Regions from separate parts of the Homo sapiens genome. Here region 1 is linked to region 2. Evidence: promoter capture Hi-C in human tissues and cell types (Jung and others, 2019). All regions are on one chromosome and are shown on one strand. The core of a region is centred on a gene start or on the middle of the fragment in contact, and the rest is flanking DNA. Distances in the headings are between cores, read along the strand shown.

What was found. Contacts are between HindIII fragments. The study calls those that stand out against the background at their distance.
Region 1: a fragment that was not itself captured here is called in contact with the fragment with the promoter of TEAD1 in region 2 in 1 of the 25 tissues and cell types used here (mesendoderm cells).

The regions. Positions count from the first base shown.
Region 1 is chr11:12,339,441-12,342,140 of GRCh38, reverse strand. It overlaps a transcript of MICAL2 not described here. Among named protein-coding and RNA genes, the nearest start is that of PARVA, 37 kb to the left of the region's middle. The HindIII fragment of the contact is 6,094 bases long and covers 1-2,700 here.
Region 2 is chr11:12,673,057-12,675,756 of GRCh38, reverse strand. It overlaps TEAD1 (TEA domain transcription factor 1), which reads right to left and starts at 1,336. Exons shown (of 13, transcript NM_021961.6): 1 at 923-1,336; 2 at 196-348. RefSeq lists an enhancer at 1-509 and a silencer at 1,345-1,644. The HindIII fragment of the contact is 23,361 bases long and covers 1-2,700 here.

The sequences.
Region 1 (2,700 bases), core at 75-2,574, 330 kb after region 2:
CCGCTCACCCTCTGCCTGGGTCCACTGTCAACTGGCTCTTCAATTGCTCCTGTGTCCTCATCTCATGCCTTTTCCTGTGCGAAATGTAAGTATCCCACTTGCTGAGGTGAAATGATCAAAACCCAACACAAAGTGACTTTTTATTAATAGAGTCATTTATATTGACTCAGTTTTGCCCAAGAGTACTCTCAAAATTGCAAAGCACACTATGTTACTTCCAACCACCAAGGCTGGTAAATCTTAGTCCCTACTTACCCTACGATGATTGGCATGTAAAGGTCAATAACTTTTTTCTTTTCTTTTCTTTTCTTTTTGAGAAAGAGTCTTGCTCTGATGCCCAGGCTAGAGTGCAGTGGTGCAATTTTGGCCCACCACAAACTCCACCTCCCGGGTTCAAGCTATTCTTTTGCCTCAGCCTCCCAAGTAGCTGGGACTACAGGCATGCGCCACCATGCTCGGCTAATTTTTATATTTTTCGTAGAGATGGGGTTTCACCATGTTGGCCAGGCTGGTCTTGAACTCCTGACCTTAGGTAATCTGCCTGTCTTGGCCTCCCAAAGTGCTGGGATTAGAGGCATAAGCCACCGCGCCGGGCCAATAACATTTTTTGGAATAGATAGTAGTAGAGAAAAAAAACGATCTATTTATTCTTTAAACTTATGTCTTTTTTTTTGTTTGTTTTTAACCTTTTTTTTTGTAGGTAATGCTGAAGGCTTCTCTGATTATGTATTGGTGTGTGTTTTTTATCCAAGTTGGGTCTTGTTTTGCTGCGTGGTTCATAACTATCTATCTCTTTTGATGTGATTTTGCACCTCCTTAGAATCTGTGAGAAGTCCTAATTCAGTGTTCGCTGCAATTTTGTTGATGTAGTCTTCATCTTCACTGATGATCTAGGGGCCTTCAAGGGGCTTTAGAGAAAGTGGAGCAGGAACTCTCAATAGCACTGTGCAGGGCCTCTCCCCTGGAATGGCTGGGTTTCGGTCCCTGTCTTTTGTTCTCTGGTCTCTGGTCAGCACTCCACTCTGGAGCTCATGCACAGACCTGTTTCATTCAAGTTTCTACCACCCTTCATATGTGGAGCTCTGGGTATGTCTGCCTCCCACAGGCTCCTTACACAGAATGATGATAATCCAGAAAGCTGTGCTGTGAATCTGGCCTGATTCAGTCTTGACAAGCCCAAGATGCTAGTAGCTAGCTCACAATTCTGTTCTGGGAGTCAGAGCATGCAGCTGAAAAATAAAAATTCTAATCTTTCCCTTTTAAATTACTTTTTGTTTTGTTTTAATCTGTATATTCTTTAGAAACAAAAAAATTAGTTTTTCTTGACTTTGGGCTTTAGTGAAATTGTATTATACTATATGTATTCTTCCATAACTTGCTTGTTTTAAATTCAAAATTATGTTGTAAAAATGCATCCATGTGACTGATTCATTTTCACTGCTGTATATATAACATTCGGTTGTATGACTATACCACAAATTATCCATTTTCCTGTTAATGGATATCTGAGTTGTTCTTAGAGTTCTGCTATTATGAGTGATGCTGTTATGAGCATTCTTGTATGTGTCTTTTTGGCCACGTGGGTAAGAGTTTCTCTGGAGTATATATTAGGAATGAAATTCTTAAATTGTAGCGTATGCACATATTCAACTTCACAGCCTAAAGCCCAATTGTTTTCCAAAGTGTTGTGACAATTTGTGTTCCCATTAACATTGAATAAGAGTGCACCTTGTCCCTCACCCTTGCCAAATGCTTAGTATTATCAGATTTTTAAAGTTCTAATAATTTAATAGTTTTCCATAGTTTTTTACTGTAGTCTGAATTATTTGTATTTTCCTGTCTTTTTCACAGATTTATTGGACATTAAGTATTCTTCTGTGAAGAGAATATTTATGTCATTTGTCTATATTTATATTGGGTTGTTTGCCTATTTCTTACTGATTTGTAACAGTGGGAATATTCTAGAATGCTGATTCTTTTTTGGTTATTTTTTTTGCAAACACAGTTGACCGTCTGTATCTGAGGGTTCTACATCCTCAGATTCAACCAACTGTGGATTGAAAATATTCTGGAAGGTAGAGCCAAGATGGCTGAATTGGAACAGCTCCAGTCTATAGCTCCCAGCGTGAGCGACGCAGAAGATGGGTGATTTCTGCATTTCCAACTGAGCTTTGAAGAGAGTAGTGGTTCTCCCAGCACACAGCTTGAGAACTGAGAACGGGCAGACTGCCTCCTCAAGTGGGTCCCTGACCCCCGAGTAGCCTAACTGGGAGGCACCCCCCAGTAGGGGCAGACTGACACCTCACAAGGCTGGGTACTCCTCTGAGACAAAACTTCCAAAGGAACGATCAGGCAGCAGCATTTGCGGTTCACCAATATCCGCTGTTCTGCAGCCACCACTGCTGATACCCAGGCAAATGGGTCTGGAGTGGATCTCCAGCAAACTCCAACAGACCTGCAGCTGAGGGTCCTGACTGTTAGAAGGAAAACTAACAAACAGAAAGGACATCCACACCAAAAACCCATCTGTACATCACCATCATCAAAGACCAAAGGTAGATAAAACCACAAAGATGGGGAAAAAACAGAGCAGAAAAACTGGAAACTCTAAAAATCAGAGTGCCTTTCCTCATCCAAAGGAACACAGCTCCTCACCAGCAACGGAACAAAGCTGGATGGAGAATGACTTTGATGAGTTGA
Region 2 (2,700 bases), core at 87-2,586:
TTTTTAAAAATACAAAAGTTATTTTTTTAAAAAGAAGAAAAGTCACAGAAGTTAAACTTTCTTTAAAGCGGGACTCTGGACTTTTGAAAACAAGTGTTGCTGTTACGAACAAAGACTAGAAGTGTACCCAGATTTTCTCCCCCCCGGGGATCATTTCTCTTCCAATCAACAAACAAATCCCCCAGTATTTCCTACCGAAAGGGAAGGGAAGTTTTCCAGGGAGAGTCTCCTCCTGGGTTTGGTGGTAACTGCGACTCAGTCTTTTTTGGACACAATGTTTCTGCTGACTCCTGAAAATTTTCCACTTGAATGTGCAATGAAGCGGCGGCGGCAGCGGCAGCAACAGTCCTGGAGAAGCGGCAAAGACGACCGTGCCCTTTTTCATCTTTGAGAAGAAGGAGCGAACCCCCCGCCAGCGGCACAAGTCTGCGCAGACCCGGGCCGGCCTCGGGGGTACCCGGCGCCGGGGGGCGGCGGCGAAAGCAGGGGGGTGCAGGCCGGCTCCGGGCTCCGAGGCGGCGGCTCTGCCCGCCCGCGCTCGCTCCGAACTTCTGGCTCCCCAGCGCACCCCGTCCAAGGCGCCCGAGGGTGTGTGCGTGTGTGCGCGTGCAGGCGGCGGGAGAGGGGGCGCGCGGGGGGCGCGGCGCGGCCGGCCGGGGGCCGCCTGTTGCCGCGCGGGCTCCCAGCGCGCGGCCCAACTTGGCGTCCTGGCAAGTCGCGCGGCGGCGCCCGGCCGCTCACCTCGGAGGGGGCGCGGGGAGGCGGGTGTGGGGGCCCGGCCGCGGCCCTCCGCGTGCCCGCCCGCCGTCGCACACAAAGCAGAGCCCGCAAAGAAAGAGCGGCCCGCGAGGGACGCGCCGCCGGCCCCCCGCTGCCCCGTGCGCCCCCCGCACCCCAGCATCCGCCCCGCGCGCCAACTTACCTCGGCCCAGGGAGCCACCGCAGCGCCCGGCGAGTCCGAGGCAAACTTCGGCGCCGCTTCCCCCGCCCTCTGCTCGGTGCCCGGCTCCCTCCCCGGCTCCCGGTCCCTGGGCCCGGCCACCCCACCCCTGCCTAGCACCGCTCCTGCCCCGGGGCCGGCTGGCGCGCTGGGCTGCTGCCCGCGCTCCGGGCAAAGGTGGAGGGGTGGGGGGGCGTCACTGCATGGCCTGTGCCTGGACGCGGCCGCCCCGGGCCCGGGCCCCGCCGCGCGGAATGGCCCGCAGGGTGGAAGCGAGTCTGCAAAGTGCTTGGTGGGCGCCCGCGGCGGGCGGCGGGGCCGCGGCGGCGGCAGCAGAGGCTCGGCTCGGCTCAGGCGGCGCGGCGCGGCGCGAGCGATGCTAAGAATGTTCGGAATGAGGACAGGAATGAAATGAACGCCAGGACCGAACTCGCTCCGGAGGGGTGGGGCCTCGGTGACGTCATGCGGCCTGCCGCCCGGGGCTGGAGGCGGGGCCTGCCGCCGCCGGTGACGTCATGGGGAATCGGGGCGGACCGGCGCGGCTGCTTCGCCGTTGGGGCGCGGGCTTTCGGCAGCTGGGCGGAGTCTCGCGCCCACGGGGGAGCGTGGCTCGCGCGGGAGCCGCCCTCCGTCTCCCGGCGCGGGCTCCGGGCTTTGTCCCGAGCCGGGGCGGGGCGGGGCGGGGCGGACGGGAGCTGCGCGGCTTGGAAGTCCCTGCGCTCGCGCGAAGAACTCTGGAAGCCTGGGTTTCTTCCAGGGGGCAGGCGCCGAGGCGGGAGTTGCGCGCGACGCGCCTACCGTGCCTCAGTTTCCCTAGTCCGGGACGCGGAAGCGCGGGTGACTGCGTTGAGTGCTCCCGGACTCGCGGAAGTCTGCAAGTGTAGGGTAGAGAAGTTGCCTTTCTGGTGATGCAGATTGTTGCTCTCGAGCGCGGTGGACGCCGTCTCCGGGCCAGATTCCCAGCCTGCCATTTCTTCTCTTCCCTTTCACTTTTATAAAAGTTCACAGCTCTCACTCAAGTCGAAATCTGTCTTACGGTTGGGAAAGGAAAACCTTTAGCTTAGCAAAGAAGGATAATTACAGAGTTCGTAATAAACCTGCCCTGCTAGCAAGGTCTTCTCCAAGTCAGTTAAAAAACTAAGTTCACTCATCTCTGCCGGTTGTACTTTTCAAAAGTAACTTCCTAAACTTTGAAATGCTGCATCCGGCGACTTTAAGTTAGCCCTTTCATTATTGAGAAACTTCATTTCATTATTAAAGGAATCATTTTAACCCTGCCATTGGAGGTAGTGACGCAAAAGTGACATAGACGCAGTCGGTAAATCAGAAAACGGGTAAAATCGACCCACTGGGGACAGAACCGTCTAAAGTTTCGGGTGATTGTTATAATTATTTAACAAACTGCAAAGCAGTTCCCGCACAGTGGACCTCATTCGTTCTAGGCACTTGGCTCTCTTTTCCAGCTGAGGCCTCAGGATTAAATAACAACATATTTTGTGCCCGAGGAATCCCTATATCCCTATATATGGGTAACTGAGGAGACTAGACTGTGACTGAGTGCAACACATTTCTACAAAACATAACTTTTACTAATACATTGTTTTCCTTTTTTTTAATTTTTTTTTTATTTTATTTTTGGAGACAGGATCTTGCTCTGTCACCTAGGCTAGAATGCAATGGTGCGATCTGGGCTCGCTGCAGCCTCGACTCCCTGGAATCAAGCCATCCTCCCTTTTCAGCCTCCCGAATAGCTGGAACTA